Linked DNA regions of Homo sapiens: regions 1, 2, 3, 5 and 6 are each linked to region 4. Evidence: promoter capture Hi-C in 16 types of primary human blood cells and fetal thymus (Javierre and others, 2016). All regions are on one chromosome and are shown on one strand. Each heading gives the region's core, a stretch centred on a gene start or on the middle of the fragment in contact. The rest is flanking DNA. Distances are from core to core; before and after follow the strand shown.

Region 1 (3,540 bases), core at 507-3,006, 680 kb after region 4:
CGAAAACAGCTTACACTCTCTGTAGCTATCAGTAGAGGGCTCCCAAAGTGACACCTATTAAGTGCCATGTACTCTTGCATTATGGGTCCTGCATTTGCATCATTGTTTGTTTGTTTTTTAATCTTTCCCACTAGAGTGTAAGGTCCTTACATTGAAGCCAGCCTCTATCTCCTTGTTTATCACTATATACCCATGGTATAGCACAGTATCCAGCACAAAGTAGGTGCTCAATAAATATTTCTTAGCCCAAATTACTAAGTTGTCTGAAACTTTAGTAGTGACATTAATTTTAGCCTGATCTAAAGAAGCACTGTTTTTAGAATATTTACACTGACAGCAAGTCTTCTTACTTCCTCTCTTACTACATTTTTTATTAATTAAAATTTTTGTGGTTTATGCTGTGCATTTTTACGTTTGCTTACTGTTGTCATGTATTCCATGAGAACAAGCAGGCTGTCTGTTTTACTTATGTGTTTATTTATTTATTTTTATTTTATTTTTAGATGGAGTCTCACTCTGTCACCCAGGCTGGAGTGCAGTGGTGCGATCTTGGCTCACTGCAACCTCCACCGCCTGGGTTCAAGCAATTCTCCTGCCTCAGCCTCCCTAGTAGCTGGGATTACAGGCGCACACCACCATGCCAGGTTAGTTTTCGTAGTTTTAGGTGAGATGGGGTTTCACCATGTTGGCCAGGCTGGCCTTGAACTCCTAACCTCAAGTGATCCACCTGTCTCAGCCTCCCAAAGTGCTGGGATTATAGGCGTGAGCCACCGCACCTGGCCTTGTTTTATTTTTAAAAAGAACCATGCTTGACAGGTTTTTAGATTGATCCCCAGCCCTACTGCCCAGTAAACCAATGGTTCAGCAATGGTAACATAGAGACCTTCAGCTTTTCAGCCTAAGGCTTTCTATTTTTACCCGCTACAAGACTTAGCTTGAGCCTTGAGAGGAACTTACCTTAGTTTTCTTAAGGGTCTGTAGCCAATAATGTTATCCATATGTCTTTTTAAAGCCTTAAATGGAATTGATGCAAATTCACTAGTATCCATTTATCTCAGTTCTGCAAAACCAAGTTAGTAGAGCCATGCAGCCAAGGTCATACTGTTTATTCCAGAGACTTATTTCCCCCATGTGCCTTTTCGAGCTCCCACAAAGGACTACTAGTGTTATACTTGCCCAAAGTGAAAGCACAACATGAGATTCTTGTAGTAATCTGTGTTCTCCTCCCTCTCCTTTCCCTTCCCCGCTTGCCATTCCTCCTTCTCTCCCCACCCGCTCAGTCATCAATGAGTTCCGTTCTGTCCCCACTCTAATAACTATAAATGACACCAATGCCCAGCAAGGAGCAAAGGTCAAACAGCTCTCCTGTATTCTTTATTTTTCTACCAAGATTGCAGGATTTATGTGGCAACAAAGAATAAAGAACTGGGCAGCAAATACAAATTTGTAAATTTTAAGAACAGAGAGCTTAAAACACAGTGCCCATCAGAAAAAAATATACATATATTATAATTGTTTCAAGTCTTGAAAAAGAAGTAGTCTTTGCTGTGGTGAGCAGGCAAATAACAACAACAGATTCCTGAGGGAATGTGATAGGCTTTTCCTATGATAGGCTTTGAATCAAATAAGTACAGGTCATGGATTTTCAAATATTTTTCTAGTGTGTCCATTACTTTCCAAAAGGTCCATCTCTCTGCTGTTGCTGTTGCGACAGCTGCCAGGTTCTCCAAGCAGAAGGAGGGAGAGAGGCTCCTGCAGCTTCCCCAGGGCACTCGACCCCTCCACCCACACACCTTCATAAAACATTCAGAAACCTCTCTGCTCAGTTATATGTGCATATACCACTGCACAATAACTGTCCTAACCACATGTTATCCCAAATAACCTCAATGGCACTGTTATGACAGACTACGAACAAGGCATGGGGACTCAGCCAGGATTATGTAATAGGGTTTTGGCCTGTCTTGAAGCCAGGAGTGATTATTTCTACTAATAATAGCTATCATTTATTAAATTCCCACCAGGTGCCAGCTGCTTTATATATGAAATAATGATGAGAGGTGGTAACATTTATTGACTTGCTCATTATATGCTAGGTACTGTTACAGATTTGTAACATGTATTTTCTCATTTAACCCCTACTCCCCCCAACTGCTATATATTAATTTTTTTAGCTATATATTAATTTTTTTATTATATAAAAAAGGGCTATATATTAATTTTTTTAGCATCAGTAAATAGATGAGGAAACTGAGGTGCAAACAGTTTAAATAACCTGCCAAGGTCACACAAGTAGTAAATGCTGGAGCTGGGACATGAAGCCTGGAAGCCCAACTCCAAAACCACACCCTTAACCATCATGTTAAATTATCTTCCTGGTTGAGTTACTTTTAATCCTCATCAAAACTCTACTTTATACCCAGTTCATATGGGAAAACTGAGGCTCACAGTTGTTAATTAATGTAGGTAGTAGCTGGGGTTCTGTTCAGTGTCATGAGACACCAAAGCCTGGGGATGTGGGGTACAGAGCTCTATCACCCCAGGAAGTTCTGTGGCTGTCTAGCCTTGGACAAAGGAGTTAAGTCGCTGAAGTTTTCTTCAAGAGCTTCCACCTTCTATCTTTTCCATGTTTGATCCCCTTTCCATCTCTGAACTCTCCCTGAGGCCCATCGCCCCCTGCCACCACCCCTACCCTCCCGTTATAAAACTCTTCTTTGTCTCCTTCCTGAAGGGGCCTCTATAAGGGAACTCATAAATTAGCCCTTCCTAATTTTTCATGGTATAATATTAGCACTTTAGAGTGCTGACTCTGCTGAAAATGCAAATCTCAGGCCACACAGACATAGTGGTCCTGACTCGGTAGAGCTGGGTGGGGCCCAAGGATCTGCGTTTTTCAGTAAGCACCCCATGATTCAGATGTGGGCAGCCCAGCTTGATTGACTCTAGTGCAGTATGTCCACACCTTCTGACAGAAGATTTGCATCATAGAAAGGGATTTTATGTTGGGGATTTGAGGTCAGGGCAAGTGAGATATTAAAGCAAAAAGACCTTCGGATTTTGTTTTTGTTTGTTTGTTTTGGGTTTTTTCCTTTTTTTTTTTTTTTTTTTTTTTTTTTTTGAGACGAAGTCTCACTCGCCCATGCTGTAGAGCAGTGGTGCAATCTTGGCTCACTGCAACCTCCACTTCCCAGGTTCAAGCGATTCTCCTGCCTCAGCCTCCCAAGTAGCTGGGACTACAGGCATGTGCCACCACGCCAGACTAATTTTTGTATTTTTAGTGGAGATGGGGTTTCACCTTGTTGGCCAGGCTGGTCTCAAACTGCTGACCTCAGGTGATCCGCCCGCCTCGGCCTCCCAAAGTGCTCGAATTACAGGCATGAGCCACCATGCCTGGCAGGCCTTTGGGTTTTGTTTTCCTCTGGCTATCATATTGGTCAGATTTGGGTATATATTTTACTTATGTAAATTTTAAAGTGAAGGCCTTTCAAATACTCTTCTCTTAAATTTAAATAATTGGTCTTTTAAAAAGACAGAATAAAA
Region 2 (3,698 bases), core at 197-2,696, 660 kb after region 4:
AAGGTTTATTTGCCTCAAGCCCAGTCCAGTTCCTTATCTGTAGCAACTTGGTTCTTCATTCCAATTCTGCAGTCTAGGCTCCCAGCACCTCTTTTATAAAGGGCTAGAAAACCTTGCTATCCTCAGTCTCTCCCCTCCACAATGTACAGCCCACTTACCACCATACTTTTCCTCCCACACATAAGAACTTCATTTCCCTGCTTAAAATCCTCTGGAATATTCCTCAAAGTGGCATGCCCACACTGTTCCCAGTTGGCTTCTCTGCCCTCATGCCCAACCATTAACTGCCACGAATTCATTGATCTGGCCACACAGAGTCTCCCACTGTTTTCTAAATGGTCCATGCCTTTTCTTGCCTCAGGTTCTTTCCTTTTTGCTGTTCCCTCTACCTGGCTTGCCCATTTCTCTCTTCTTTGCTCACACTCAACGTTTAAAGCTCACTTCAAATGGCCCCTCATCTCAAGAGCTCTCTCCAGGCAGCACAGATCACCTGACTTCATCTATGCTTCCTTCATGCTTGGTGCTTAAGCTATTTCCATATAACTTATCGTTTGCATGACTCTCTGCCTCAAGCAACTCCTGAAGAAGACCAAGTGTTCTTTCACATCGTATCACTGCTTCTAGCACAAAGGTAGTTCAATAGCAGTTTGAGGAATTCGACTGAATGAGTTTGTATACGTGTCATATATGCTGTAACAGCTAAAAGGCTCAATGTATAAAAGCCAACAGTAACCTGCAACAATGTAAGAGAACTTCATGAAATCTCTTCCCAAGGTCACATTTAGTGAATATATTCCAAAAATGATCGAACTGATCATCTTACCAGATCAGATCTCCTTCTACTCCCACCTCCTTGTGGCCATCTTATTCTCCTTGTACTGCCAGCCCCCAGCATGCTGGTCATAGAGAAAGTGCTCCATAATTGTTGATGAGATATTGAGAAATGAATAAATTATGTACAAAAATACACACACATTCTATATCAGCATTTTAATCAGTCTTAAATAAAAGTAATACAGCTACAATATGTTCAATTATTCTCTTCACCTTGGATTCACCTGAATCTTCAAAGAGTTCTACCTATCAATTATATTTTTCTCTCTAAAACTATGTTATAAATTGGCAGCAAACTTTCAGACCAAAAATAAGAATTCAGGAAGGAAGCTATTTCTCTACCAAGTGAGTATTGCATCATTGACACTGAATGCAGTTGGCCTCATCAGTAAGATGAATAATAAGTAGATTGAGTTTTTTAAATAGTAAAAAAACCCAAGTGAGTTTCATAACCCAATCATTAGTGGATGAAGCCAACCTTGAACACACAACTAGACAAGAAGTTATGTTTATGCTCTGTACTGTTTATCTCCAGGCATTTTATTGCCATATTTAATACACATTACAATAAACACTAAAAAAAAAAAAGTCTAAGAAAAAGAGCATTTAATGAAGGCAGGCCCAAATTACGACAGAAATATTTCCAAAAAGAGAAACATTTAATTCTTTTTATAGAGAACTAAACCTGAGATGAAGCACCTCAAGCATTTCCCCAAATATGCATCATTGTACAAGCAAGGGATTTCTCTCCATCAGGTTAGATGTGAGAAAGGGATTGATTTGATTTGGACCCCTGTTCTTGCCAGTTAGACTCACCTTCCTGACACTCCTCTTTCTTATTTAGAAGCAGCATACATCCCCCAATAGAGAGGATCCTCGTTATAAGCCAACCCAAACTGCACTTCTGTTAGTGCTAAATGCTCTTTTCAAGTTAAAAGAAATATAGTAGACAAAGCTCCAGGAACTCAGTCCTATATTTCTCTTCCCTTTGGAGCCTTACCCGCAGGCAGCAGGGGAGAGCTACCATACCATCATGGTCTTATTTAACGCTTCAGTCATTTTTCACTCTCTTCTAGAAGCAACTCTAGGCTCTAGCTCAGGTGTATCCGCAGGTGCCCTGGGACTTTACACCTGCCATGATGGAAGACATAAACACAAGTTAATTAAGTCTATTGTTCAAACAATTTGTTTCTCACTGAGGCTGACTCACTTGCAACTACATCTGCACAATTTTATTTCCAGAAGTAGCCTTCCGCCTTCATTCTGGGTGTGAGGACTCTCTCTTTAGAAATTCACTTTATTTCTGAGACTCTTGGGTCACTGACAGAATAACACTTAACCAAAAAAAAATACATCAGCAATTTAATCAGCATTTGAATATATATATAGCTAATGGATGACAAGCTGTTTTTTTGTTTTTGTTTTTGTTTTAAAAAAAAATTATGTGATACTTGGGCCAGGTGTGGTGGCTCATGCCTGTAATCCCAGCACTTTAGTAGGCCAAGGTGGGCAGATCACTTGAGGTCAGGAGTTCGAGACCAGCCTGACCAACATGGTCAAACCCCATCTCTACTAAAAATACAAAAATCAGCCGGGCGTGGTGGCACATGCCTGTAATCCCAGCTACTTGGGAGGCTGAGGCAGGAGAATTGCTTGAACCTGGGAGGCAGAGGCTGCAGTGAGCCAAGATCGCGCCATTGCACTCCAGCCTGGGCAACAGAATGAAACTCTGTCTCAAAAAAAAAAAGTATGTGACACTTGTAATTTTTTTTCCTAGCCATAAAGTTCCTCAGGGTAACATCATTAAGGGAAAACTGGAATAAGTAGAGTGTTGAAGATTTAGTATTGCGTAGCATTCTTACTCAAAGTCAGGACTGAAAACTACTTTTGAAAGGCTTTCATAGTCTCTCTGGCAGAGTGAAGCATAGAAAATGAATGGAAGGTTGAGTCCGAGGAGAAAAATTTAGGCAAGACATACACAGAGGGAGGTTTGAAGCATGCTGCTTTGTTTTTGTACAAAAGGATCAAAGGACATTTCTCACATTAATTGCTTCTATTTTTACTTGCATCCTTATTGTGCTTCCATTCATCTCTCTAACTGATGTCCTGGACACTCTTTTTGTCCTTGTTCCTCTCTCATCACATGCCACATAATTTCTGCCTTGGATCATCCATCCCTTTCCTCTTCTCTCTCTCTCTCTCTCTCTCTTCCTTCTCTCTCTCTCTCTCTTTCTCTCTTTCTCTCGTTAGGTTCTGTATTCTAGAGCAGCAGAGAAGGCCAGCTGCCACCCATATGCTGCCCTTCCATGTTGTAAAGATGTCCCTGGGCAGCAGCTAACCAGCCAGAGCCCTCATTTCCCAGCCTCCCTTGCGGTAGGTTGAAGCGAAGTGACTGAATTCTTCCCAGTGGAATGTGAGGGGAAGGGTGCACCCTCTCTCCAGGCCTCTATGCAATCTTCTGTATATCATCTGTGGAATTCTCCATGCTCTCGCTTTCTGCTTCAGACACCTGACACTGATGCCCACTCATGGTCATATTGGAAGCCATCTGCTGAAGATGGCAGAGTCTCTGTCAGCCTAGGACCCTCATTGATTTCCTCTTCCATCTGCCTTCCTCCCACAGGTGGACTGTCTATAAGCAAGAAACAGATTTCATTTGTATTATGTCATCGAGATTGCAGGGGTTACTATTGAAACAGCTAGCAGTACCTTAACTAATACATGAGGGCAATGAAAGAAATCAAAGCCTACTACAGCAATCAATCATTCATGTCACAAATATTTATGGAGCACCTACTATATCCAGGGCCCTGTACTAAGGTTGGGGGCTAGACAGACATAGTCGAACACTCACAGAGCTTACA
Region 3 (3,783 bases), core at 1,030-3,529, 780 kb after region 4:
GACTTGATTTGTCCAGACTTTTGGTCAGCAAGAAGGAGATTATTGTTTGTTAAGAGGAAAATCCGAGATGTACTCTAAATCAAAATAAAAAATAGTATAAAACCAATGATCACAAATACTCAAAAATGGTCCATGAGTTTAAGGCATTATTTGCAAAAATTCCAATATCCTTCAACAAACATACCTATGTAAACCAAGAACGCAGTAAAGAACATAAATAATATGTTTTATTTCATAAAAATGTCAGAGAACAAGCAAAATTCCACCTAAGCTTAAAGGTAAGGGGAAATAGCCGCCTTCATAGTTAACTCTACTGAGAACATGAAATGCAAATTTTTACATTCAGAAAACAGGGTGACTATCCCAACTAATAGGTACTTCTTATCAGTCTTCAAGGTTAGCATTTTTACCTTCCCATTAGCACGGTTAATTTTGTTCACGACTTCAGCAATGATGATCTTTTCTTCAATGGCATCTTTGAGTTTCTTATACTTGGGGTTCTTGTTGATTTCCAGGTAAGCCCCTTGGAATGGTTGCCCAACACTAAAGGAAAAAAATTCCTGCACATTAGAAATAGTTTCAAATGAAAGTACCACTAAAAAAAGGAAACAGGTCAGTTGATTCTAAGGAGTAGCTGACAACTTCATAAAAATTGATTTCAATTTATTTTATATATTACACTTACATCTGTCCTAAATATAAGTTGGAAATGAAACCTTAAACCTATTTCAAATACACTTTTGGGGTGATCATGGCATTTGGTGGGCAGGACTTTGATAATAATCTTATCACACGGAACAATCAAGACAGAAATCACTCATAAGAACAACAGCTAAGACTCAAGTACATGGCCTCATGTGAAGGAAAAGGCAATTTCTTCTAATCTGTTAATATAAAGTTAACAGCTGCTCACAAAGGATTTACTAACGCCTTCAAACAATATGTGGCAGTGAAAAGAGCTGAAATCATTACCATCACCTGCTCTAAAGAAAAATTTCATTTCTTGCAGAGAATAAGAAAATCAATAGGCCTTCTGGGAAAGAACAGATCCAGGGCAATCACTTTAGAAGAAAACTATAGAACACTTAATATTAACATGTAACTGTGGTTCTAAGTAGGCAATACAGATGGTCTCTGACTTGGTTTGACTTAGGGTTTTTCAGCTTTACAGTGGTGCTCATAAACCATTCTGTTTTTCACTTTCAGTACAGTGGTCAATAAACCACATGAGATATCCAACACTTTATTATAAAACAGGCTTTGTGTTAGATGATTTTGCCCAACTGTAGGCTAATGTAAGTGTGCTGAGCATGTTTAAGGTAGGCTAGGCTAAGTGATTGTGTTCAGTAGGTTAGGTGTATTAAATGCATTTTCAACTTATGATATTTTCAACTTCATATGACATATGACAACTTCATAAAAATTGACTTCAATTTATTTTATACATTACGCTTGCATCTGTCCTAAATATAAGTTGGAAATGAAACCTTAAACCTATTTCAAATATATTTTTGAGGTGATCATGGCATTTGGTGGGCAGGACTTTGATAATAATCTCATCACATGGAACAATCAAGATAGAAATCACTCATAACCCATATGATGGATTATCTGTGTGTAACTGCATCATAAGTTAAGCAGCATCTGTATATGAAAGGAGAATCAAGCCTCTTCTCCTAGAATATGCCTCTAAATGGACAGAAGTAACCAAAGCAAACATTCAGAATCAGGGCAATTTTTTTTTTCCCAAACAAACTAATTTTTGTAAAAGGTTAACTGTACACTTATCACTAAGATATCAATTTCCCTAAAGACTTGTCGGGGGACTCTTTCAGGACAGGTTCATCAAAGGCACCAAGGAAAAACTGCTGCTTCAAGGAATCTATAAGCTTCATTTTGAGCTACAAAGTTCTGGCAATTTGCAAATACAAATTTAAATGCTTATGTTGTGGGTGGAGGATAAGGGAAGAAAAATCCACGTAGGTGGTCAGCGTTTCACAGCTCTCAGGATATAAAAGGCCAACTCCCATAAGAGCTGCCACTTTGCAGGGTGGTGGGAGGCTAAATTATTCCACCTCTCTCACTGCTGTGGGGTGAGTGTGCCACTATCCCTGAAAACTGATAAGACTACCCAAAAAGGACTTGGCTTGAAGTTAACTTTTTTTGGTTCCTATTCAACTGTGTTTTAAATTATAAAAATGCTAACAGGCTTTTAAATTGTTTCCTCAAAGATGTATTTTCCAGCCTGTAGTTTCTGAAGAGTCATCCACAGGAAATGTTCATTAAGAAGGTTATTCCCTAATTTAAAAATGTATAAAAAAAAAGCTGAATAAAATTAGTTGCTGAAGCAAGCATACAGACAAATTCTCCTGTTTGAATATGCTTTATATAACAGGCACTTTGGACAACTTTGGATTTAGACACTGTGTTTGACTTAAGGGAGTATGTATCACCTCAAGTAGCCACATCAGCTAACCAATGAAGTTGTACAATTTAAAATATTTAAACCCAGTGAGTCTGGCAATGTATATTCCTTTAATCCTTTAAAAGGAAGATATTTTAAATGTGTATAAAGTCACAGAGAATATAAACATAATTTACGTAATAAATGTGAATATACTCAGCATATAATACATTCTTTCTTTGGCCATTCATTGGAAGAAGCTTAAAGTTGTTACAGATTTGGCTTGAAATTGTACAATCTACTTTTTTATAAACACCAGATGAAAATGGGATTAGATTGCTGGGAGGAAGTGATGAATGCAGGAGATGTAAGACTATTGGGATAAACAGTCTTTACCAAGGACTTCACTTGCTGAACTTGGGATTGGTGTTCCTTCTTTTTCTGAGTCCACGGTGTCTAAAATAAAGGAACTGAACGTGCTGTACAGGCCACAGAAGTCATATCCGTTGAGTTAGCAGACCAAAGGGCACCACAGACCAGTGCTCAAGCAACACTCAAAAAGTACTGTCCTGGCTCGCTCTTTCATTTACCTTACAAATAAGTTTCTGACCTTGCTTGCTATGGCAGGAAGACTGGAATGGTGATTAAAGTATATTGCCAACAGAAATTTGGCTAGTCTTTGAAAACTACGGAAAAGGAACAGGAATTTACAATGCAAACGTATCTTAACAGCCTATATAATTTTTATGTTAAATGACTTCTAATTATTTAGTAAAGTGTTTGAGCTAATGCTAATGGAGTGAAACCAACAATCGTAACCTCATTTCATTAAACTGCACTATAGAAGCCATAGCTCAAATAAATGTGTTTACATCAAGCTGATTATAAAATGATTCACAGAACTAAAAATCACTCATCTAAGACTGAAATCAAACACCAGGCAAAACGGCGTACAAATATACTTGAGAAACTTTTATAATCCTGAATTTTATGGGTAAAGCAAAGCCATAATACCTAGATGGGTATAAAGCCTTCTTGTCTTTGAAGAGTTCACTGGCTTCTAGTTTCTCTTCATAAATAAGTTTCTGCTGGTCTGTGAATTGGTCCCTGTATTTTTTACACTGTGAGATATGAGAAGAAAGAAACAAAACATCATTTATATAAATAAATTATTACTCATTCTTAAATATGCTAAGACAATTTATCAGCAACAAGAATAAGGGAGAAAGTACAAAACATTCACTAAAAAAGGCCAAAAACATTTTTCCCTTGTGGGTTTTAAAAAGTTTGTCTTGGAAAACGTCAGAGTATTATTTGTATTGCAGAACCTGGAATGCTTCTTCAAAACACACCAGGGCCTAGTGGGCACGGGCCTTGCA
Region 4 (3,835 bases), core at 996-3,495:
TTTTAAGGACTTTGCCTTTAGTTTCAAGCATGACTTATTTTCATAAGCCTGATTAGTTACCACACCAGCCTTGCTATGGAAAATGACATGTTCTCATTCTCTGCTGTAGAGTTGTTAAATCTTGATCTATATTTATGTTGCCTTCTCTGCTGAAAGCCTGTAGCGAAAGAAATTTCTAATTCCTTGTTTTGCAATATTAGTTGGCAGCTCTATCTAATGGGTATTCTGTTTCCTTAAAGAATTTAGCTGCTCTGTCTAGAAGCCGATTTTCTGATGCCTCCAACGTCTGGTCTAATTGATCTGTTTTAATGGAGTCTTCGTCGGTGAGGAGCGAGATGCCACCGACTAGAATGCTGGGATCTGCTGCTTAATTGCCAGGAGTGAGAGACACTGAGATTCAGAAATCTTTGGAGGTGGGAGGGGAGAGGGACAGTCTCGGACGGAGGCGGAGATGTAAGATAAAGGGATGGATTTCACACAGGAAAAAAAAAAAGATTTCGTTGAGGCACTGAGGTGCTGCACGATCACATCTCTCAAAGGAGAAGTTAAAAAGCAAGGAAGTGGGAGGAGGTTGGAGGTTAAAGTACTTAAAAGGATTACTCGGGTACAATTTGTTTTTCTGCTGGTGTCTGCAAAGGATAGATAGTCCCGTTTTCAAAGTATATGAATGCCTCTTTTAAGTGATTGGGAATGGACACTAATTGCCTGTTAAATGTTATCAAATGCTCTCCTAAATTCAGGGGACACAGAAAGAGGGGCACAAAAGGAGAATTTAAATAGAAAAAGGGAGGATCCGGAGGCTTTTGAAAGCGGGGGGAGAAGAAGGAGGAGGGATAACAGAGAGGAATAGAGAAGGAGAGCGGAGAGAAGATAAACAAAAACAAAAACAGGAATCACTGAATAATCACACACCAAAAAGAAAGCTCTTCCCTATGGGGCATCCAAAACACTGAGACTGCAATAGTGACCCCGGTCATGGAAGAAAGATGTTCCTCTCCACCCTTGTCCCCGAAAGCTCTTGGTCCCGTTACTGGCGACTAAAATTCCATTAGGCTAAAGAGTGTGTCTAACTGCCTGAAGAATGCAGCAGACGGAAGGCGGGTCCCGCTATGCCGTTTGCCCTTCCCGCTGGAGAGAATGAAAGAAACGCGCAGAGCCAGAGACTCCTGCCGAGTTAGACCTTCTCTCGTCGCCCCAGGTCACCGGCCATCCGGCAAAGACCCGAGTAAGGAACGCAGGGTCACTGCCTGGGCCAACAAATGGAGCCCGCTCTCCCCTTCCCGGACGCCGCTGCCCGGCCGATGCTCCCGGCAACCCACCCGCGGCGTATGCAGAGGAGCCTTTCTCTTTCTCTCAGACCACTTGTCCCGACCAATCTGACCTTCCAAACACATCTGACCGCACCTCCCAGGTGGACACACTAATAGGCTACGGGCTGGAGAGGAGCGGGTGATGAGGAGAGGGATTCAAACCTGCGAACGCTTGGGCTGGGTCGGAGCTGCGGGGGGCCTGGGAGGAGAGAGGGGAGAAGAGAGAAGGAAGGAGAGCGCCTGCCGGGATGGCTGAGCTGCCTCGGCGAGCAGCCTTGGGGTTGCACGCTCTTGTGGGAGATGCTGCTGTTGCTTCCAGGTCGGCAAGAGCGGTTCTAACACCATCGCCTCTCACCCTCTTTCCTGTAAATCCCTAGAGAAACGTCCCTGGCCTCTCCGCCGCGACATTCCCAGCCTGCATCCCCCTACAGCCTAGGCGGCGCGCTCCCGCACGCTGGAGCGCCGGTCGCCAGCAGGACGCCCTCTCCCGCGCCGACTCGCCCCTCTCTGCCCTGCTGCTGCTGCTCCTCTGACACCTCCGCCCCCACCATCTCCAGCTCGGAGAGACGCCACCCAGCCGCGGCCCGCACTCGCGGCCCGGGGTCACGCGCGGAAGAGGGGCGCTAGTCCGGACCCCGCCTTCGGTAGGGGGCGTCCTGGAGCGGAGAGTGAGGCGAATGGTATATGAGTGTGCGGGTAGCCCACCCTGAAGCCCGAGCTTCTCATTTGAGCCATCCCCGCCTAGCCCCACTCGGGCCAGCGCCTGGCGAGCGAGCCCATCTGTGGCTTCCGCGGCCGCCTCCTCCTTGCATCCTTGCACCTCCTCGTCGACCCCTCCCTCCCGGGACCTGCATCCTGCTCCACCAATCAGAGCCCGACTGCCTCTTCCCACGTGACCCCGGGCGGGCTGAGGACCTGCTGCTTCCCAAACGCCAGAGGGATGCGGGCGGCAGAGCTCGAGAGGCGGCTGCCGGGCTGCGGGGCGCCTTGACTCTCCCTCCACCCTGCCTCCTCGGGCTCCACTCGTCTGCCCCTGGACTCCCGTCTCCTCCTGTCCTCCGGCTTCCCAGAGCTCCCTCCTTATGGCAGCAGCTTCCCGCGTCTCCGGCGCAGCTTCTCAGCGGACGACCCTCTCGCTCCGGGGCTGAGCCCAGTCCCTGGATGTTGCTGAAACTCTCGAGATCATGCGCGGGTTTGGCTGCTGCTTCCCCGCCGGGTGCCACTGCCACCGCCGCCGCCTCTGCTGCCGCCGTCCGCGGGATGCTCAGTAGCCCGCTGCCCGGCCCCCGCGATCCTGTGTTCCTCGGAAGCCGTTTGCTGCTGCAGAGTTGCACGAACTAGTCATGGTGCTGTGGGAGTCCCCGCGGCAGTGCAGCAGCTGGACACTTTGCGAGGGCTTTTGCTGGCTGCTGCTGCTGCCCGTCATGCTACTCATCGTAGCCCGCCCGGTGAAGCTCGCTGCTTTCCCTACCTCCTTAAGTGACTGCCAAACGCCCACCGGCTGGAATTGCTCTGGTAAGTCCAGAACCCCCGTCCCCGACCCTTTAACTCCGCAGAAGAACACGCGTATCCAGCACAGACCAGCCTACCCTAGCGCGCCTCCTCAGCCCCTCACCTCCTACTGCCCTAGACCCCTAATACCACCCACCTCTATCCAGAGAAACAAGGGGAACTGTTGCAGGCCCGGGGGTGAGGGGTGGTTCTGGGATGGGCAGAAAGTGCAGGTGTAGCAGGAAACCTTTGCATGCTTGCGCTTACATTGGAGCTGCGAGGATTTTGAGAAATATTAAACGGGATGGTTTTCTGGGTTCACTGTTTTGAAAGAGCACCAATCCTAGGGGAAACACTGAAACAGAAGCTTTGTCATCATTAAAGAAAAAAGTCTTACTAGGATGAGGAAGAAATAACTTTATGAGAAAGAATGAGCGAGAAAGCAATAAATCAAATGGTGACTGCAGGGGAATCGCTGATTCCTGGCAAAGGTGCCATGAGGTCGCACTGGTCTCCCGTTGAAGACCAGGTCACACAGATTCTAGAGGAGCTGGGTTTCAATAGAATTTCTCTCTCTCTCTCTCTCTCTCTCTCTCTCTCTCTCTCTCTCTCTCTATCTATCTATCTCTCTCTCTCTCTCATTCCCTTCTCTCCTAGGCGGCAAAAGACATTGGTTTTGCAGTCCAGATATGCCCCTCTCTTTGCTTCCCTAAGCTTCAAGGTAGTACAGGGGAGTTGAGAAAAAGAACACTTTGCGGGTCTCCCAGGCCGGAGTGGGCATGACTGAGGCTGGTCAGGCTCCATGTAGGCGAGCCGAGGGCGGAACCGACTTCAGTGGGCGCTGACTCCTCCATTTCTGGACAGGCTTCTGTGGAGTGGGTCAGGCACTCTTCTTGCTCGCTCGGGTTCCTTCAGATTCTGACGGCGAACGCTTGGCAGGCTTCGCTCTGCTGAAGCTTCCTAATTAAATAGGGCCAGAGGATGGGAGTTGCTGCACTCCTAGCTGGCATAGCATTTCGGTTTGACAGCCTGTA
Region 5 (3,571 bases), core at 1,021-3,520, 700 kb after region 4:
TTGGTTTCTGCCAGTTTCAACAAGAACGAAGAAGGAAGCTGTTCGGCTTAAGCCAGAACATCGCATGTTGTGGGAGCAGCGGCTCAAGGAGGAGCAGATGCAGAAGCCCAGGTAGCAGAGTGCAGCTGCCACCCACAGCCAGCCCTGCCTCTGACAGGGGATACAGCCTGCTGGCGTGAATGGTCCATGCCACCATGCCATGTGAGGGACAAGGAGACTCCTCCTCAACTGTGAAAAACTCAACACACCACATTCACATATGCGACACACATTTTATTTTTGCCTCTATAATTTTCCTGTCATTTTACTTTATTTTTATTTGAATTGTTTAATTTTGTCACACAAAATGTGAAATTATGTCACCCAAAAGGAAGAAGCAGTGTCTGTCAACAGATAAATGGATAAACAAAATCTGTTTGTACATATACATTCAATGTTATATTATTCAGCCTTAAGAAGGAAGGAAATTCTAACACATGATACAACGTGGATGAACTTTGAGGATATTATGCTAAGTGAATAAAACAGTCACAAAAGGGCAAATATAGTATGATTCCACTTATTCAAGATATGCAGAGTAGTTGAATTCATACAGACAGAAAGTAGAATGGTTGTTGCCAGGGTCTGGAAAGAGGGAGGAATGGGGAATGTATTAGTCCATTTTCACGCTGCTGATAAAGACATACCTGAGACTGGGCAATTTACAAAAGAAAGAGGTTTATTGGACTTACAGCTCCACATGGCCAGGGAGGCCTCACAATCATGGTGGAAGGCAAGGAGGAGCACATCACATCTTACATGGAGACAGCAGGCAAAGAGAGCTTATGCAGGGAAACTTCCGCTTTTAAAAACCATCAGATCTCATGAGACTCACTCACTATCATGAGAACAGCACAGGGAAGACCCGCCCTCGTGATTTAATTATCCCCCACCGGGTCCCTCCCACAACACGTGAGAATTATGGGAGCTACAAGATGAGAGTTGGGTGGGGACACACAGCCAAACCATATCAGGGAGATAGTGCTTAATGGATACAGAGATTTAGTTTAGGAAGATGAAAGAAGTTCTGGAGATGGATTATAGTGATAGTGTACAACAATGTGAATGTGCTTTAATACTACTGAACTGTACACTTAAAATGGTTAAAATAGTAAATTTCACATTATATATATTTTACCACAGAAAAAAGGAGTTTTTAATGTTTGGTTATGAAATATTTTAATCATACAGAAAAATACATATCAGCCACTTGTGTAAGTCTTTGGATTTAATAGACACATTTTGTCATGTTTGTTTCTTTTTTTTAAGAAATAAATCATCACAGATGCAGCTAAACCTTCCCTCCTTGTTCCAGTTGTATTCATCTTTTTCCTCCTTTCCTTGTATGTTTTAATGTTTTACTGTATAATAATACACTATTTTGTGTGATGTTTTAATCAGACAGAGAATATTATATTTTCCAACTTACTTTTTGTTGTATTTTTAGAAATTGTTCCACATTGACCTATGTAGTTCATTCATTTTTAACCTCTGAATATTATTCGGTTGTTTGAATCCCCCACTGGTGGACATTTAGGTTGCTTCCACTTTTTTGCTACCACTACAAGTGCTGCTGTGAATATCCTGTGCATGTCACCCTGAGTGCATGTGTAGAGTTTCTCCGGTGCACAGTCCTGCAGTGGAAATTTTGGGTTGTAGAGGACATGTGTTTTCCACTTCACTAATATTGTCAAGTTGATCTTTGAGGTGGTTGCACAATTTGAATTCCTACCTTCACTGAAAAAGACCTCTTGTTTCCACCATTGCCCTCAACAAACTTTGGAATTATTACTTTTTTTCCCATGCTAATGGATGTGAAGTGATATCTCACTGTGAGTTTAATTTGCATCCACCCTCCCCCAAACATCAGTGAGAGTGAGCAGGTTCTCACAAGCTTACTGAACATTCCAGTTTCTTCTTTGAAAAATTGCTTGCTTCCTAAATGGTAATTTCCAGAAGGCCAAGGATAGTCTGTGTTATTTATAGTTGTATATTCATTACCTAGCACAATGCCTGGCACATGATAGGTAGGCATCATTATCTGCTGAATGAATGAATTGCCAGGCATACTGATAGGTGCTAGGTAAAAATAGTATTTAAAAAACATTAATGACGGTAGGTGCTATAAATACTCCTGACCTTGAAGTTGATAGAAGTTAAATAATTTGCCAAGGCCACACAGCTATTACACGGTGGAACCTGGACTCAAACCCTGCTCTGTCTCATGCCAGAGCTCACACCCTTAATACTACAACATCCTGCCTCCCCTCAAAACTCAGATGGAAGACCAAAGAATAAAGAACAAATATATTACGGATCTTTAATGCTGTTAACAATTCTTTGTTATTTTATCTTGATTAGATCTCTCAAGAAAATAAAAATGTGTTTCAATGTCTGAAAGCACAGTTGCTTTTGGAAAGTATCAAATGATTTTCTTAGTTTGGAGGCCTTGTACCAGGCAGAAAAAAAAATGCTCCTCTTATTTAAAAGAAAAGCTGGCACCAGCTGCTACTGTTTCTAGATCATTTATATCTATAACCCATACTTTTCACCCAAATAGTAAGCTTACCCAACTGCCTATAAGATACCTCTTAGCTTGCCTCTCCGAAATTGAACTCTAGTCACCATCTCCCCCAAATCTGTTCCAGCCACAGCTTTCCCATCCCAGTTGATGACAGTTGTTGACAGCCCCACCCTTTCCGTTGTTCACAACAAAAACCTGTGCTCTTTCTTTCCCAGCTCACATCCCTCCCCCTCAGCGTATCTGCTGGCCCTGCCTTAACAACACATGCAAAGCTCAACCACGGCTCGCCACCCTCCACTTTCTCTCCCTGGTCTTATCATCTTTGTCTCTGCATTTGTTTCCTAACAGGTGCCCCTGTTTCTTCCCTTGCCTCCAACCATCTATTGGCAACACGGCAGTCAGAGTGATCCTGTTAACATTCAGATTATGTTCCTCTCCTGCTCAAAAGCCTGCAGTGACTCTCCATTTCATTCAGTTTAAAAACTAGAGTCCTTCAAAGAGCCACAGGCCCCACATAATCCTGCTCCTCACTCCTTCCCTGAGCTCATCTCCTATCTCCCCTCATTTGCTCCTCTCTAGCTACAGTGACCTCCTTACTGTCCCTTTCATATGCCAGGGCACTCCTCCCGTAGGGCCTTCAAGAGAGCCTGGAGAGCTGCTCCTCACATAGTCATGCGGCTCTCTTCCTTTCCTCCTTCAAGCCTTTGCTGAGATCTCACATTTCAAGAAGTCCCTCCTGAGCACCTACTTAATAACTTGATTCTTCCTCCATCTCCAACCCCTACACTTCCAATCCCCTGCTCTAATATTTCTCTTTTCCAAATCATTTATCACATTCTAGCATGACATGTATCAATACCATATGCTTCATCAATAATGTCTGTCCCCCCACCATGGGAATATAAGTCCCTCCAGGGCAAGAATAATTTTCATTTTGTTTACTGAAGTATTCCAAGCAACTAGAACAGTGTCTGGCATTGTTAGCACTCAGTTATTTGAATTTAACAA
Region 6 (3,719 bases), core at 98-2,597, 640 kb after region 4:
CCCAGAATATTCATACAACTATTCCTTTTTATGGTTTAAAAAAGGCACATGCTATACCAGCTGTTCTGCACCTTGTTCTTTTTACCCAATGTCTTGTTTTTGTTTGTTTTGGTTGGTTTTGTTTGGTTGATTCCTTTTTCTTCTTGATCAGGTTCATCATATTCAAACCTAATGTATTTTGCATGTTATGCCATTGTATTTGCACTTTCACAGAAATATAAACTCCGTCTTCCTCAGGTAAAAAGAATAAATCTTTCTTTGTGGAAGTTGAGGAATCTTCAAGCAGAGATAGAGGAAGTTTCAGGTGGTGGATTTCAAGCTTTAAAGAGGATGTGGATCACCTGCAGAGCTCGCAAAACGAAGTGAAGTCCTATTTCTGATTCAATAGGTCTGGGGTGGAGCTGGAAACCAAATATTTAATAAGGAAAGTGAGTACCCCTAATGCAAGCTCTGTGATCATACTTTGAGAATCACTATATAAAGGCAGAAACTATCAGCCCCGGTTGCATATGAGAGTCACCTGGGGGACTAAAAAAATTCTGATTCTGACTAGCTTGGTCTGGGTCCCCAAGTGAATCTAATATGTCACCAAGATTGAGAATGCAGCAATTCTTAAACTTGGCTGCTTACTGGAATCATTTAGGCATCATTAAAAAATACTGATACCTGGGTCACACCTGCCCCCAACAAAGATAATGCTGTAACTGGTGTGGAGTATGGCTGGAGTACAAGGAGCTTCCAGAGCTCCCCGTGATTCAAACAAGCAACTGAGGCTGAGAGACTGTGGTTTAAGCAGATAGGCTTACTGAGAATTCCAGAGTCAAGTCAGGTGAAGCTGACAGATCCAGGAATGTGTTTGTCTTCGCGCCACTCTATTACAGACACAGGAAAGCAGGAGAAAGACAACGTGTGGTCCTCTGTTCTTTGTTAATAAACAGTTTGTGCTGATCAAATAATTTGTCGAATCAGGACTTATTTTTTGTCATTAGTATGGAAGGAAGAGAATGACAGCTAACTGTCCATTCTTGATCAATAAGATTGATCAAATGAGTTAAATCTGAAGAGAGGACCAAGCCACATTTCCACATTAAAAAAAAAAAAAAGATTCTGGCCAGTTGCTCACATGAAGGATAGTTCCTGTGTTCTGGCTCAGTGCATTCTCTATCTTTTTTGTTTTTTGTTTTGTTTTAGACAAGAGTCTCACTCTGTTGCTCAGGCTGGAGTGCAGTGGCACGACCTCAGCTCACTGCAACCTCCGCCTCCCGGATTCAAGCGATTCTCCTGCCTCAGCCTCCCAGGTAGCTAGGACTACAGGCATGTGCCACCACTCCTGGCTAATTTTTTTTTTTTTTAAGTAGACATGAAATTTCACTATGTTAGCCAGGCTGGTCTTGAACTCCTGACCTCAGGTGATCCGCCTGCCTCAGCCTCCCAAAGTGCTGGGATTACAGGCGTGAGCCACCGCGCCTGGCACAGTGAGTTATCCAGCTGAGAACTCTAGCTTCTGCTATCTTTTCTGTGGCATTCCAAATGAAAGTATTACTTTATCGGCTTCCACTGGTCAGAAGGCATTTTCTCATTCCTCCGGGCATTGATAATTTGGCAACATTGTGATAGGGGAACTATAAACCAGCTTTCCTGAAACTCTTCTGTAACGAGGTCCCCATCAAAAGAAGTAGTTTCCATATTTAGCTCCATTAGCCGCTTTCTACAAAGACCAGCTTAGAGCTGTAGAGCCGGTTTTCAGTTTCCAACTTCCAAAATACGTTGACAGTTTTTTGTTTTTGCTTTTGTTTTTTTTCAACCATCCTTTCTAATGACCTCCCTGGATAGCAAACAGATTACTTTCTTGTTTTTAACTTGATCAGGCATAAGAACAAGAACTGTTAACATTTCACCGGATGTACGCTTTGGCAACATACCAGCTTAGGTTGTTTAATTTACAGCAATATGGCTGCAGGCAAGTCAGACTAATGAGGGAGACTAAAGATTTAGAGTTAAATATTAAATGTATCTTAGTCTTTATTTCTTGCTGTTCCAACCAATAATAATAAAAAAAAAATGCCTCTGGGATATTCGAGCATGAAGACATCTAGCTTGTGGTGCCTTCTGTAGAGCCAGAAAGACATTTAATTCCGTATTACACAGATGGCAGCCACAATATTTGTTTCCTTTTCATTTTATTTTGGTAGTATAACCTATGCTGGCTGGGGACACAATATACTAGCAAACAGCTCACATCTAAAGTAGCCTGGCCTTGGTTTTCCTTTGCAGTTTTATAGCTCGTCTTTCTCTCTCAAGAATTTACTATAAACTGGGGACTGGGTTAGAGAACCAGCAGTGATGCAGGAGAGGGTACTCTGATGAAAGCTTTTTCTGATTCTTGGATTTTGCTGATCAAATGTAAGTTCATAGTTGACTAGTATGTCTCAGTGTTATAATCAAAGAAGTTGGGCGGGGTGTTCCCTTCCTTCTTACCTATTGTCACTAAAGCACCACAAACTAAATCCTGCCCTCTCTGGTGAAAGAACTCTTCCTAAATGTTCCCAATAGATTGAAATTTTGTTTTTGTCTCCAACCTTATCCGGTTTAACTCCCCACCTGCTCTGGGTCCTGTTGACTCCTAAGTTCCCCTGGAGACCTGGCTTTTTTAACCTCCTCAGTTCCGATGGATAAATATTGGAGGACTTTCCCAACAAGGCACAATAGCGGGGCTCAAGCCTAATATTTTACCACCATTTCTCACACCCTCCCATGTTCTTGCTGTACCAAACTCTTTCCATTACCTGAAACACTGTTCAATGTTATTCAGAAAACATTTACTGAGCATCTGTTACACCTCAAACTCTGAGCTGTTGCCAGGAATGCAATGGGAATGCAACATCTTCGTCAACTGTTCTTACTCCCGCTTCTATGGTGTGGTTTTCTCTTTCTTTTTCTTCATAATTTTTGCATGACTATAATTATTTTCATGTATTTCACCTGACTGGAATCTCATGGTAATAAAGTAAAACATAGGTAACCAAATCTGTCAAATCTACTGAGGCTGGGCGCGGTGCCTTGCGCCTGTACTCCCAGCACCTTGGGAGGTCGAGGCAGGTGGATCACTTGAGGTCAGGAGTTCGAGACCCACCTGGCCAACATGGTGAAATCCCATCTCTACTAAAAATACAAAAATTAGCCAGGCATGGTAGCATGCGCCTGTAGTCCCAGCTACTTAGGAGGCTGAGGCAGGAGAATTGCTTGAACCCGGGAAGCGGAGGTTGCAGTGAGCCGAGATCGTACCACTGCACTCCAGCCTGGGCGACAGAGTGAGACTCCATCTCAAAAACTAAAAAAATTAAAAATAAATTTAAAAAATCTACTGAATATGTTGACCACCATGTGATCCAAGGCCAAGGTGTCCTTGCACATGCTGTTCTCATTTCTTCAAGTACCTTTGCCAGGAGTTAACGTTCCTGGTTCTCTCCCTTCTACCCACTTCCAAATACCTAGAGAATTCCTGCATGGAGGAGAAGAGCCAGGCAGTGGGTTGCTACTGAGAAGGAGGGCTATGCTAGCTGACCTTGACTGAGCACTTACTACCCATCAGGATCCGTGTCAAGTGCACTAAGTGCTTCGTTTCATTGAAGGCTCTCAGCAACCCTCTGAGGCAGGTTTTCATTGTATCGTTATTTTACAGATGAGGAAGCTGAGGCTTACAGAGGTAAAGTGACTTT

The links. The method cuts DNA at HindIII sites, captures the fragments that hold promoters and counts their contacts. A CHiCAGO score of 5 or more calls a contact.
Region 1: a contact is called between a fragment that was not itself captured here and the fragment with the promoter of TMEFF2 in region 4, in 3 of 17 cell types (neutrophils, total CD4 T cells and activated CD4 T cells). The highest score is 9.5, in neutrophils.
Region 2: a fragment that was not itself captured here is called in contact with the fragment with the promoter of TMEFF2 in region 4 in 3 of 17 cell types (neutrophils, naive CD4 T cells and non-activated CD4 T cells); the score reaches 9.8 in neutrophils.
Region 3: a contact is called between a fragment that was not itself captured here and the fragment with the promoter of TMEFF2 in region 4, in 2 of 17 cell types (neutrophils and activated CD4 T cells). The highest score is 6.4, in neutrophils.
Region 5: a contact is called between a fragment that was not itself captured here and the fragment with the promoter of TMEFF2 in region 4, in 4 of 17 cell types (activated CD4 T cells, neutrophils, non-activated CD4 T cells and 1 more). The highest score is 6.9, in activated CD4 T cells.
Region 6: a fragment that was not itself captured here is called in contact with the fragment with the promoter of TMEFF2 in region 4 in 14 of 17 cell types (total CD8 T cells, megakaryocytes, neutrophils and 11 more); the score reaches 10.7 in total CD8 T cells.

The regions. Positions count from the first base shown.
Region 1 is chr2:191,514,081-191,517,620 of GRCh38, reverse strand. LOC107985833 (a long non-coding RNA gene) reads right to left here and starts at 1,029. Exons shown (of 3, transcript XR_001739229.1): 1 at 958-1,029. The HindIII fragment of the contact is 3,630 bases long and covers 1-3,540 here.
Region 2 is chr2:191,531,485-191,535,182 of GRCh38, reverse strand. All of the region lies in intron 2 of LOC107985833 (a long non-coding RNA gene), which reads right to left. Among named protein-coding and RNA genes, the nearest start is that of NABP1, 140 kb to the left of the region's middle. The HindIII fragment of the contact is 5,493 bases long and covers 1-3,698 here.
Region 3 is chr2:191,410,808-191,414,590 of GRCh38, reverse strand. MYO1B (myosin IB) reads right to left here. Exons shown (of 31, transcript NM_001130158.3): 27 at 3,419-3,525; 28 at 411-543; 29 at 1-74. Among named protein-coding and RNA genes, the nearest start is that of MYO1B-AS1, 170 kb to the right of the region's middle. The HindIII fragment of the contact is 775 bases long and covers 1,892-2,666 here.
Region 4 is chr2:192,193,343-192,197,177 of GRCh38, reverse strand. TMEFF2 (transmembrane protein with EGF like and two follistatin like domains 2) reads left to right here and starts at 2,245. Exons shown (of 10, transcript NM_016192.4): 1 at 2,245-2,825. The coding sequence starts at 2,654. RefSeq lists an enhancer at 1,724-2,299. The HindIII fragment of the contact is 4,792 bases long and covers 1-3,170 here.
Region 5 is chr2:191,496,658-191,500,228 of GRCh38, reverse strand. No RefSeq gene overlaps it. Among named protein-coding and RNA genes, the nearest start is that of NABP1, 180 kb to the left of the region's middle. The HindIII fragment of the contact is 670 bases long and covers 1,936-2,605 here.
Region 6 is chr2:191,550,448-191,554,166 of GRCh38, reverse strand. No RefSeq gene overlaps it. Among named protein-coding and RNA genes, the nearest start is that of NABP1, 130 kb to the left of the region's middle. The HindIII fragment of the contact is 2,051 bases long and covers 322-2,372 here.